Regions from separate parts of the Homo sapiens genome. Here region 2 is linked to region 1. Evidence: promoter capture Hi-C in 16 types of primary human blood cells and fetal thymus (Javierre and others, 2016). All regions are on one chromosome and are shown on one strand. The core of a region is centred on a gene start or on the middle of the fragment in contact, and the rest is flanking DNA. Distances in the headings are between cores, read along the strand shown. Region 1 holds the start of TMEM263-DT (TMEM263 divergent transcript). Region 2 overlaps POLR3B (RNA polymerase III subunit B).

Evidence for each region. Contacts are between HindIII fragments. The CHiCAGO score rates a contact against its expected background, and 5 or more counts as called.
Region 2: a fragment that was not itself captured here is called in contact with the fragment with the promoter of TMEM263-DT in region 1 in 2 of 17 cell types (naive CD4 T cells and M2 macrophages); the score reaches 6.5 in naive CD4 T cells.

The regions. Positions count from the first base shown.
Region 1 is chr12:106,952,624-106,959,273 of GRCh38, reverse strand. TMEM263-DT (TMEM263 divergent transcript) reads left to right here and starts at 3,779. Exons shown (of 1, transcript NR_185933.1): 1 at 3,779-5,761. It overlaps TMEM263 (transmembrane protein 263), which reads right to left and starts at 3,367. Exons shown (of 4, transcript NM_152261.4): 1 at 3,209-3,367; 2 at 2,125-2,192. RefSeq lists enhancers at 2,420-2,479, 3,409-3,703 and a silencer at 2,980-3,739. The HindIII fragment of the contact is 6,686 bases long and covers 1,063-6,650 here.
Region 2 is chr12:106,437,820-106,444,469 of GRCh38, reverse strand. It overlaps POLR3B (RNA polymerase III subunit B), which reads right to left. Exons shown (of 28, transcript NM_018082.6): 19 at 1-7. Among named protein-coding and RNA genes, the nearest start is that of POLR3B, 83 kb to the right of the region's middle. The HindIII fragment of the contact is 4,799 bases long and covers 1-3,649 here.

The sequences.
Region 1 (6,650 bases), core at 2,530-5,029:
AAGACTCCATATCAAAAAAGAAAAAATTCAAAATGACCATTTTTAAATGTTACCCTTAAGTAATACATTAAAATTATTAAATTCTATACAAACTATCTGCCCTGAACTCACTGAATCATTAATTCAACATATACTTGAGCCCTACTATGCGACAGGCACCCTGTTACACAATTAGGAGTTCAGTGTGATTAAGCACACACAGGCACTACTCTAAACCAGAGTTTACAATCCAGTGGGAATAGACTTTTCCGGCACTTGCCATTTAGTGAATCATTCAAGAAACAAATTATATATTCAAGAAACAAATATATCTGCTCTCTAGGACCTCATAATGCACAAGTTTCTATTAAAAACATACTTTCTGGCTGGGCATGTTGGCTCATGCCTGTAATCCCAGCACTTTGAAAGGTCGAGGCAGGAGGATCGCTTGAGCCCTGGGGTTTGAGAGCAGCCTGGGCAACACAGCAAGACCTCATCTCTACCAAAAAAACAAAACAACACATACTTTTCTAAGGAAAGTAGTAATGACAGACAATAGCTTTAGATAAGTACAAATGATTTAACTTATTCTACAGACATAAATCAGTTCTACCTTTTGGTCCTGAAGTGTGAATAAACTATTACAATACCAACTAAACTGGTTATAAGTGGGTTTTTAAGAAATTGTGACATATGAAAGGCTTCTTTGTTGTAGACTGTATATCACGACTACAAATTCATCAGCAGTTACATTAAGCATTGTAGAGATGGGGAGAAATAATTCTTGCCCAGTACAATAGTATCACATAGATTTAGCAGCTGGCAAATACACTGAGCAAGGATTAACAACACAATTCCCTAAAGGGTAATTTATTCCAATAATAGAAATAAGTAAACAAACACCTCTTGGGAAACGTGTTTTCTTTGATGAATCAATCTTGTTTGTGGGTTTCAGTAATATTTCATATATAAAATTTTTATTCATAATAAAAAATTCCAAAAACAGTACATAAATTTTCCTCTGGGTACCACCCCTCTATACACCAAAGGAAGTTAAATAACACTAACACGTTATATAAAGCTTAACTACAAAATACAGTGCACAAGTTTATTGTCAAAGCCACTTAAAACCACCTGTTATTCAACAGTAGGTGCCAATTTCCCTATAATAGAAAAAGACGACTATAAATGAATTAGCTAAATTCTTCTACATATTCTACCTAAAAGAACTTTACCACATCCTCACTCCCATGTTTTAGCTTTTTTGCCAAATAACTGCAAAGAGATTCAAAAATATATGTATACAGAGCTTTACAACATATACACCAACAAGCAGAGTACATTAAAACTCCAGCTTACTGTTTTTATGTTTTTCTAGTTAAACCAACTATCAAGAAGAGTCTGCTTTTAAAGATGGCCCCTGCCCATTAAATCAACAGCAAATAGGCTACAAGAAATGCTCTCAATCTAGCAAGGAAGAAAAGGTCATCTGCCAGTAAAACTTGTAAGTGCCCACTTAGACGAGTAATAACTGACAGTGTCAAAATGGCAATTTTTAAGGGTTATCCTTAAATGAAACATTAAGCAGAATTACAATACTCTATTAAACCAGAGAACCAGTAAACCATCTTCACATTATTTCAACAGATATTTGCATTCCTACTATGTGTCAAACATTCTATTAGGCACTGAGGCATCCTTGTGAACAAGCATACAAAGGTCTTATTCTCAAGATGTTTATATATAATCCAGTGAGATATCTTCCGGAAATAGAAAAAGAGCAAATACCGAATAACTGAAACAAAGGTAAAGATTTTCCTGTAGTTAAAAAAAAAAAAATCAAACCCATGCACACACAAAGAAATCTGTATATTTGTCCAATGTAGCAACCGTTATAATTTCTAACGATGCTTTCTATAAATGGACAAATTTTTACTGAACTTGGTTTCTGGTACATCTGTTCTAACAAAGACTAAAGAAATGAAAGTGGAAAAAGCAAAACAGGATGCATATGGGTTTATCAAAGGCTACTTCTCCCTTTCTTTTTAAAAAGTTAAGCATGGGCGCGAGCGCGCACACACATACACACACACACACACACACACACACACACACACACACACACACACGGGCGCGCGCGTTTACCTGTTGGTGTTGTATCGATATTCCTGGGGAACCCCTGAGGGCACTCACACCAGCAGAAGTTTCAAAGGCTAAACAATAGCATACAGCAAATAATCACATATAGCAAATATTTTCATTTGGAATTAGCACAGTGTTCACAAGGACGCAAAAATCAAATTAAGAACCCTTCCCTTTTCTCTAGGTGTTTCTAAACCCTTCCGGGTGGCCCCTTCTCTCCCTACTGATCCCTTTAGGCACTAGCAAATCTTTTTTTTTTCTTTAGCAGTGAGTGACGTGGCAGGAGGCAGAAAATGACCCTGGAGGCGCCGTGGCTAGCACTGAGCTTGGCACCTCCTCCCTCCGCTCCACGTTGTACACCCAGCACTCCCCCCACTCCCGAAGGGCTCCAGAATTTCTATGTAAGAAGGGTTTAGGACAGGCGATCTGATTGGAAGTGGGAGCTGGGGGGTCGGTCTTGAAGCTGCGTGTGCAGAGCAGGCAGTTTTTATTTAGACTGGGAGGCAGTGACGGCACGGATGGGTGCTCCAGCCCTCCCTGTCACCCCTGGGCGCGGCCAGCACCCTCTCCATTCCCACTTTTACTTTAGGTTAGGCGTGGAGATACAGCCTTCCTACCCAGGAAGAGCTATGGGGGTGTCCACTGGGAAAAAGTCTTGTGTGCCTGAACCCAAAAGGGAGGTTTAGCAACAGGTCAGGAGTTGGCAGGGCGAGGAAGCCCGGTACCCAAGCCCCTCCGCTGCATCCCTCTCCCAGGCTGCTGATGCCCCTCACCTTCCTCCTCCGCCCCCAACCCCGAACCCCCAGATGCTAAGAAGTCAGGCGGAGGCTTTCCAGGGGTGCGCAAGCTCCAATCGCGGCGGGGCAGTCAGCGACGTATAAGGAGGAGTAGCCCCAGAAGCGAACCTCCATCCGCCCCCAACTTCGTCCCGCCCCTCCCCCTTTCCCGCTGGGGCCTCGCCAAGGCCCCGCTGGGCAGCCAGGCCGGGCACTGGGAGGTGAGGGGCAGGGGCGCCGACGGCAGAGGGCGACGGAGGAGGGCAGGAAGCCGGGACTGCGCCCCTGCCCTCGCATCCCGACTCACTCACCGCCGGGGTCGCGGCCAGCGCTAGGGCTGGGGCCGGGCGGAGTGAGCGGGCCGGCGCAGAGGAGAGCTGAGGCGGCCTGGGCGGCAGCGGCGGCCGGCACAACCCCGGGCAGTCGCGGCTCCAGAGGCGTCCTCTCAGGATGTGGAGCTGGAAGACTGTGGCGGCGGTGGTGGAGGCGGAGGCCTCTGGCTGCGGACGTGGCGCCCGACGCGACCCGCCCCCTCCGCCGCCTCCTCAGCTCCCGCCTCCTCCCGCGGCTCCAGTTCCGACGCGCACGCGCGCTCGTGCAGCCCGGGCCCCTCCCGCGCCCACCGGGCACACGCCCACCCGTTCTCGCAGGGTCCGGCCCTCCCAGCAGTCCCCAGCCGGCTGTGTCCCAATTGCGCACGCGCGACGCTCCGAGGCCCGCTCCCGCCCCTTCGCCCCCTGGACGCCTCCGTGGGAACCCCCGGCCGGCCTGCGCGCCCCTCCTCCGGGGGTCTCCCCGCCTTCTTCCCGCCACCATCCAATCAAATCGGGCGAGGGGCGCGAAGCCCGGGAGACGCGTAGGCCGCGGCCCCCAGGCCCGGTGTTTTGACGTCGGCGGTGCCCGCGTTCCGCGCCGAGTAACGGTCTTCGGAATTCAGAGCCTTCGCCTTAGGGAAGGTGGGACGGTCGCCAGTTTCTCCAGCACTTTCTTCGTCCAGGGACGTCAACCTCCCTTGCATGCTGTCCTCAGGGACTGACAGCGGGGCCTGCTCAGAAGTTCTCGTCGGGACTCTCTACAGGCCTTTGTGATTAAGTGCTAGGGGTGAGGAGAGACGTGGCTTATTTATGTGTTTTTCAGTTTGTTATGATTTTTTTTTTTTTAATTTTACTTCTCCCTGCCCTAGAATTGAGCTCCTTGAGAGTAAAAACCCGCCTGGGTCGCCATCACCCTAGGCTTGGTGCAGGGCCTGCCAGGCGCTCGAATTTGTTGAAGAGGTGGGTGTTCAGTATCGAAAGAGCCGCGGATTGTACATTAGAAAGCCTGGCTTTGCGCCGCGTCCTTGCCACTTGCTGACCAGGCCCCTCCACGTGGTCCCCGCCGGGGCAGCAGCTCTCCTCACCCGTCCAAAGGCACGGGGAGGCGCGTGGCGGCCCCGCCAGAGCTGAGCCCCCTGGGATGTGAGGCCGTCTCGCTCTGAGCTTCAGAGCAGGGTTGCAGGAGACACCTCAGAAGGTCGTTTTGAGGACGGGAGGAGATGAACTGCTCAAAGCCTGCTTAACTAGATAAATGGTATCGATTAACTTTTCTTTGACTCCCTTTCCACACCTATAAAATGAAGATGACGGGAAACTTGTCATACTTTTTTTGTGGTGGGTGGGAAAGGTCTTTATGAACTGTGAAGTCCTATGCAAACGTGAGATGTTTCCTTTCGCAATCTGATTAGCGAAGCAAAAACACGCGAGTCAAAAACATACACAGAAAGCAAAAAAAAAAAATTCACAAAATGGTTTATCAACTGCAGAATATTCAGGATGGTGGAACTGAATGGTAACTACTGACAACATAGCTCAGAAAGGACGTGCTAAAACATGCTGGATGAAGCTAACTTTGATCCAGGTCTTAAATGGAATGGACTATAGTTTATAGCTTCAACCTAATCATTAACTTATGAAATCAGAGAATTAAGGCCACTTAAGCCACTGTGCTCAGACTGTCAAGATATTTAGTTTCTCAAAGCAGAAAGAGGAAATTAAATACTCTTGTCAATTCAACATATGGGTTGGATGATTAGCAGGATCCGTGGATTGTTGTTTATCCAGTATGTGAAGAAACGGATATCCTCTGTTTTCTCGTTATTACACAAACTTCTATCCTTAATATGTGACCTTTCAAGGTTGAACTCTAGGTAAAATTATGAAGTGCACAATTACGTCTTGTTTCTTCTTCCCTTTGCACGTCGTTTTACAAGAGAATCTAATTATTATTAAAGTACAAATGACTGACAAGATTGTAGCCACTCCTGGGAGATTTTGCATTTTTACGGTTATTAAAAGCCATAACTCAAAGCAGCAGTTGAATCTGTTTCATAAACTAACTAAGATTTAAAAGAGCTCCTTTGGGAGGTCATGAGTTCATCAGAAACTTCTGGTGTAGGAGTTCAGCCTATAAAACAAACAAATACATGACTTGTAGTATTTCTTCGTTTTATAGTCTGAACTCCTCTAAGTTCTTGATTCCCATTCTGTGACCTCCCTTTCTTAGATTGTTAAAATAAAATACAGATGACTCACGCCTTTAATCCCAGCACCTCGGGAGGCTGAGTCGGGAAGATCACTTGAGCCTAGGAGTTTAAGACCAGCAAGGGCAACATGGGGAGATCCCATCTCTTAAAAAAATAATAATAATAATTGAGCATGGTGGCACCCTCCTGTAGTCCCAGCTATTTGGGATACTGAAGCAGGAGGATTGCTAGAGCCTGGGAGGTCAAAGCTGCACTGAGCCGTGGTCACACCACTGCATTCCAGCCTGGACAACAGAGTGAGACCCTGTTTCAAGAAAAATAAAATGAAACATTTATTTCTGGATGTTATTTTGAAAGATTTTGTCATGTCTTAATGAGCCCTGGCCACGTAATCACAGCATTTTGGGAGGCCAAGGTGGGAGGATTGCTTAAAGCCAGGAGTTTGAGACTAGCCGGGTCAATATAGTGAGACCCTGTTTCTACAAAAAATAAATAAATAAATAGCCAGGTGTGGTGGCACGCACCTGTAGTCCTAGCTACTTGGGAAGTTGAGGCAGGAAGGTCACTTGAGCCAGGATTTCAAGGCTGCAGTGAGCTATGATTGTGCCTCTGCTCTCCAGCCTGGGTGACAAAGTGAGACCCTCTCTCTTAAAATAACAATAATGATGAATTCTTAGTGCCTTCAGGCAATAAAATTCTTTTAACAAAATTCTTAATACACATATCAATTACCCAGCCTCTTAAGTGACTGAGTTTTCTTCTAGTTGGGTACACACACAGTCTTTTTGCCTTATTGAAAAACTTAGAAATTAGATGTGGCATTGCTTAACATGGTGGGGTGGTTCAAAGAGGACCAGAAAGAAGGCAGAAACCAGTAATGTTAAAGCAAGAAATTATTTCTAGGCTGATAGTACGCTGAAGTTTAAAAAGCTCCAGCCCAACCTTCTACCCAACATGTGAGTCTGTCTCCTGTTATGTGCACAATCATAGTTTTCATCATTATCAAACACTCTTCCCAGGGTTTCAGTATGGACTCATTTAAGTAAGAAGCCTACTTGTTGCAAGGTGCGCACGTTTTTCCTGTTTCACCATGTTTTCATGAGTGTAATGCATTATCCTTGCATTAAATTAACAGCTTTATAAAAGTTAGTTACCCCCCAGTGTAAATCATTATGCTTTCTATCCTCACTTTCTTCACTGCTCTTTGCCATTCCTGGCACAATCACCTGTGC
Region 2 (6,650 bases), core at 1-2,500, 510 kb after region 1:
GGTGTCTCTAACAAGTTAAGTAAAAATCACATATCTTAAGCATCAAGTACAAAAATAAATGTCTTTTAAAGGGTACAAAAATATTGTTATCTAGGTCCTCCAGGGATTTATATGTCAATAAAATTTGATGCTAGTAAAACTGGTAAAATAAAAACATACTTAAATAAAATACAGTAAAACATAAGAAATTGTAATTAACACATAAATTACTATATTCAACACATAGAAATACATCAACAATATTCACATGGATGACTAGCCTGCTTTTCCTCATTCTTCTAACATATATCAATGAGTAGGTTGTATCACCATTTAAGAGTGGAATATACGTCCTTTAAATACAGTTACTAGCCAAGTACAGTGGCTCATGCCTGTAACCCCAGCAGTTTGAGAGGCCGAGGCAGGTGGATCATGAGGTCAAGAGATCGAGACCATCCTGGCCAACATGGTGAAACCCTGTCTCTATTAAAAATACAAATTAGATGGGTGTGGTGGCACCCACCTGTAGTCGCAGCTACTTGGGAGGCTGAGGCAGGAGAATTGCTTGAACCCGGGAGGCGGAGGTTGCAGTGAGCTGAGATCATGCCACTGCACTCCAGCCTGGCGAGAGAGCGAGACTCCGTCTCAAAAAAAAAGAATAGGTACTATAGGCCGGATGCAGTGGCTCACGCCTATAATCCCAGCAGTTTGGGAGGCCGAGGCAGGTGGATCACTTGAGGTCAGTAGGTCGAGACCAGCCTAGCCAACACAGTGAAACACTGTCTCTACTTAAAAAATACAAAAAATTAGCCAGGCATGGTGGCGGGCACCTATAATCCCAGCTACTCTGGAGGCTGAGGCAGGAGAATTGCTTGAACCCAGGAGACGGAGGTTGCAGTGAGCTGAGATCTTGCCACTGCACTCCAGCCCGGGCAACAGAGCAAGACTCTGTCTTAAAAAAAAAAAAGAATAGTTACTATAGACCAACAGAGACCAATACCATAGCCACTAGACACTAGATAACTGTGGCTACTGAGCACTTGAAATGCCGGGCTAGTGTGACTGAGAAACTGAATTTTTAAATTTTACTTAATTACTTTAAATTTTAAAACTCAAATTGAAATTTAAGTAACTCAGTTCAGTTATATAAAATCTTTTATCTTGGAACAACTCACATTTATGAATCTTTTAAAAGTGTAAATGTTATGAAATGAGATCTAGTATTTCTGATAAAAAATTGGCATCCAAGTTGAAATGTGCTGTAAGCACACACCAGATTTTGAGGACTTATAGTAGGAAAAAAAGTGTAAAATAGCTCATTAGTTTTATATTAATTACCTGTTGATATAATATTTTGGATATGTTGACAAATAAAACTATTATTCAAAATAATTTTACCAGTTTCTTTTTACCTTTTTAATGTGGCTATTAGAAAGTTTGAGGTTATATAGGTGGCTTGCATTTTATTTTACTGGACAGCTCTGCTATGGGTAGTACTGGACACAAAGTAAGATTTTACCTAGTAGATGTCAGAATCTTGGTTACTTTCATAATATATTTCTGCAGAAAATTCAGTTTTTTGGCCAAATGATGAAGCTACTCAGATGTGTTAATAGGAAAGAGTACCCAGATTAATTATAGGTATTTGTGGAAAGTACCAGATGTGTCATCCAGGATCTGTGATCTCTGTGGACCCGCTATTTTTCCCTCAAGTGTTTGTGAAGTGTAACCTTAAGAATTTCAGTGGTTTACAGCACCTGTGGACTGAAGTGATGTCCAAGAAACCACGTCCCAGCCCATCAATGGAATGTACCTGGTAAAAGATCTCCCACTTATCCAGTTATTAACCTATTTTTTTTTCCAAAACACATGTATTAAATTATGTCCCTAGTTTGGTGAGAGAAAGTGCCTTCCATGTGGTTCTTGGTTTGAAGAGTACTGTTTTCACCTTATGACCTAGCAGAACCCCAATCCTCTCAGACAAGCAGGAAGGGAAAAGACTTCCTTTGTTAAGCAGGAAGGGAAAATACTCTAGGTTTTGTTTTGCTTTTTTCTTTAAAGAACATCAGCTTATAGCTACATTTTATAGTCTAGAAGAAAACAGATTTTCTTTTAAATATACTGCTTTGTTTAAATATTGGCCAAGTTGACATTTTCCATCTAAGTAAAAACTACTTTTTCAGATGTTAACATTGGATTGAGTTGAAAAATGAAAAGAAATATCTGAAGTTTTTTTCTCTTATGGTGACAACATACATAAACTCACATAGTATCTAATAATTACTGGAAGTCCAAACACTCTAGATTCTGACTTTACAAAAAAAAAAAATTATTCTCTTTAAAATCATCAGTTTAGAAACTGAACAGGAATTGGGAGATTTCTTTCTTTCTTTCTTTCTTTTTTTTTTTTGAGGCGGATTTTCGCTCTTGCTGCCCAGGCTGGAGTGCAATGGTGCGATCTTGGCTCACTGCAACCTCCGCCTCCCGGGTTCAAGTGATTCTCCCACCTTAGCCTCCGGAGTAGCTGGGATTACAGACATGCGCCACCACACCCAGCTAATTTTGTATTTTTAGTAGAGATAGGGTTTCTCCATGTTGGTCAGGTTGGTCTCAAACTCCCAACCTCAGGTGATCTGCCTGCCTTGGCCTCCCAAAGTATTGGGATTACAGGCGTGAGCCACTGCACTCAGCCGAGATTTCTTATTCACTGTGTATAAAGCACTTAAATTTAGTTCGAATGAAAACTAAATAACCTGTTGTTTATAACAGTAGAAAAATTGGAAACTACCTAAATATTCAACAGTAGGAAACTAGTTAATAAACTAAATGTGTGTAGGTAGATAATGTAATAACAAATGGCAATTAAAAAAATATATATATGTATACAGTCACACACCACATAACATTTTGGTCAACAACAGACTGCATAAATGGTGGTGGTTCCAAACGATTATAATACTGCATTTTTACTATACCTTTTCTTTGTTTAGATATGTTTTGATACACAAATACTTACCATTGTGCTACAACTGCCTACAATGTTCAGTAGAGTAATATGCTGTACAGGTTTGTAGTCTAGAAGCAATAGGCTTTAGCATACAGTCTATGTGTGTAGTAGGTGACAGTGGGTGACAGACACCATCTAGGTTTGTTTAAGTACACTACGATATTCACATAATGAAATCACCTGACAACAAACTTCTCAGAACGCATCCCCATCATTAAGTGACATAAGACTGTGTATACAAATATACATGTATATAAATATATATACTAATATGGAAAATGTCCAGAGTATACTGGTTAAGTTTCAAAATCAAGGCACTGGAAATGTTATCACTGTTTTATACACACACATTGTGTGGAATCATGTGTGTATGTTTGTACTCAGAAAAAAAATCTAGAATAGTACATAAGAAATTATTAGCATCGGCAACTTCTGGAGGGTGGAGTCTGGTGGGATGGGAAAGGAAGGGGATTCATTCTTTGTACTTCATGCATTTCTATATTTTAAAAAACATAAGTATGAATTAAATAATACAAAAACTTCTAGATTTTTTAAATGAAATTAATTTGATGTATGGAATAGCTTGGTAATTGGGTAACGCTGAGAGTTATATTCATTTACATCAATGAAAAACCAGATGAAAATCCCTGCCTTCGTGAAGCTTCTAAGTGAGGGAAGATAGACAATACATAGATACATCAGTAAAATACCAATTTTACTCTATGGTAATAGGCACAAGAAGTAAAAAAAAAAAAAAAGTAGTAAAGAGGAGTGGATAGAGATAAGAGTTTCTACTTTCACTAGAGTGGTCAGAAAAATCTCACGAGAAGGTGACACCTAAGTGAAGACCTGGAGGGGGTGAAGCAGTGAGCCATGCAGGTATGTGAGAGAGTGCTCCAGGCAGAGGAAGCAGCCAGTGCAAAGGTGCTAAGGCAGAGGCACGCCTGGAGTGTTTGGAGAAGAGGCCAGTGTGGTTGAAACAGGGAGTGGGGAGAGGTAGAAATGGAAGTGGGCAGATTGTGCAGGAACTGGAAGGCTTCTGTAAGGACTTCTGAGGGAGACCGACAGCCCCTGAGGGATTTGAGAAGAGAACGGACATGCCCCCTCTGCTCTATTAGGAAAAGACTATATGGGAACAGGTGTCAAAATAGTCAGGAGGCCTTTGCAAAAATCCAGGTAAGACATACAAATGGCCTGGACTAGGTGATGGATTGAGGTAGTGAAAAAGAGTTCAGATTCCAGATGTATTTGGAAGGCTCATGTGATGAGCTAGGGATTGATGTCAATATAGAGAAAAAGGGTCAGGACGGAAATAGACAGTTTTGTTGGCTTGAGTAATACAACGATGGAACTGTCATTTATGGGGCTACTATAAAATAGTTTTCTTTTATACTCAGGATACATATCTATATCTATATTTTTTTTGAGTAAGGGTCTCACTCTCTCGCCCAAGCTGGAATGCAGTGGTGTTCCAAGTATAGCTCACTGCAGCCTCAAACTGTGCTCAAGTGATCCTTCCACCTCAGCCTCCCAAGTAGCTGGGATCATAGGTGCACACCACAACACTTGGCTAACTTTTTTTTATTTTTAGTAGAGATGAGGTCTCACTGTGTTGCCCAGGTTGATCTCAAACTCCTGAGCTCCAGCAACCCTCATGCCTTAGCCTCCCAAATTGCTGGGATTATAGGTGTGACCCACCACACCTGGCCCTCAGTCAATTTTGAAATGAGGGGTATAAAATAGCACTTTGAGAGATTCACATCTTTAAGGAAGAAAAATTCTGACCAAAAACCACTATTTACAAAGTGCAAAAAATATATATATTTGCAATATATATATTGGCAACAGGGTTTGCTTTGTCACCCAGGCTGGAGTGCAGTGGCATGAACATGGCTCACAGAGCCTCCACCTCCTGGACTCATGCAATCCTCTAGCCTCAGCCCCCTGAGTTACTGGGACTACAGGCGTACATCACCACACCTGGCTAATTTTTAAGTTTTTTGTAGAGACGGGGTCTTGCCATGTTACCCAGGCTGGTAAATTATAATCTTCTAAAAAGTAATATATTTCATTTGGTAGCAGAAAACAGAAAAGTTTTTCTTTTTCCTGTTTTAAGAGATAGGTTCTTACCCAGGCTGGAGTGCAGTGGCACAATCATAGCTCAGTGTAACCCATAACTCCTGGGCTCAAATGATCCTTCCACCTCAGCCTCCCAAGTAGCTAGGACTACAGGTGTGTGCCACTGTGTCCAGCTAATTTTTTATTTTTATTTTTAGACATAGGGTCTTGCTATGTTGTCCAGGCTGGTCTCAAACTCTTGGCCTCAGGCGATTCTCCTGCCTCAGTCTCCCAAAGCACTGGGATTATAGGGGTGAGCCATTACACTGGGTCAGAAAAGTACTTATTCTTGATTGAAGACATAAATAGTTATTAGGTGGTAGTATTAAACTCTCTAGCAATATATCTGCAAGAATTCCAATTTCAGGTAAGTGGTACATCAGTCACATGCATCAGACAGCAAGTTACATAGATGTTCTTTAATGTACTCTAAAATGGAACACAGATGCTTCTAAAAATATCATTGTTCAAGAAGAAATATTGTGAACATACTACCAATTCAAGTGCATACTGCACATAAACTTAGAGTTTTTGAACAGACTATGTAGAGAATTCCTGCACTGACAAGAATTCAGATGTCCATGGACAAAAATCATCTCTAACAGAGGTAAGTATATTTTTATACAGCTTGATTCATTAGTTCAACTTTGGCAGTAATCAAGTATTAAAATCAGAGAAGCAACTCCTTTTAAAAAATACACATTAAGGCTGGGCATGGTGGCTCATGCCTGTAATCCCAACTACTCAGGAGACTGAAGTGGGAGGATCACTTGAGATCAGGAGTTTTAAGTTTCACTGAGCTATGTTGTGCCACTGTACTCCTTCAGGGTGACAGAGCAAGACCTTGTCTCAAAAAAAAAAAAACATATATATGGTTTTATATACATATATATATATGGTTATCTATCTATATGGATATATGGATATATCTTTCTATGAGTGTGTGTGTGTATATATATAAACTGTCACACGAATAGGAAGGATAATTAAATCTAAAGATGACTTGTTAGCTGCTTTGTAATACTCTTCACTAGGATAAATGATGCGTTATGCTCTGCTATAAAATTGTATATTTCTTTATGGTACATACAGAAATATACAATATACATATATACCATGAAATACTATGCAGTCATAAAAAGGAACAAGATCATGTCCTTTGCAGAGACATGGATGAAGCTGGAAGCCATCCTCAGCAAACTAACACAGGAACAGAAAACCAAACACCGCATGTTCTCACTCACAGGTGGAAGCTGAACAATGAGAACACATGGACACAGGGAGGGGAACAACACACACCAGGGGGACTGTTAGGGGGTTGGGGGAGGAAGAGCATCAAGATAAATAGCTAATGCATGCTGGGCTTAATACCTAGGTGATGGGTTGATAGGTACAGCAAACCACCATGGCCCACGTTTACCTATGTAACAAACCTGCATGTTCAAACAAAAAAAAGAAGATTGTATATTTCTAACAGTTCCTGTCAAAAGAGTAAAAGATAGAAGGACTGAAGATGACAGTAAAAGAGAAGGTAGTTTCTATAGTC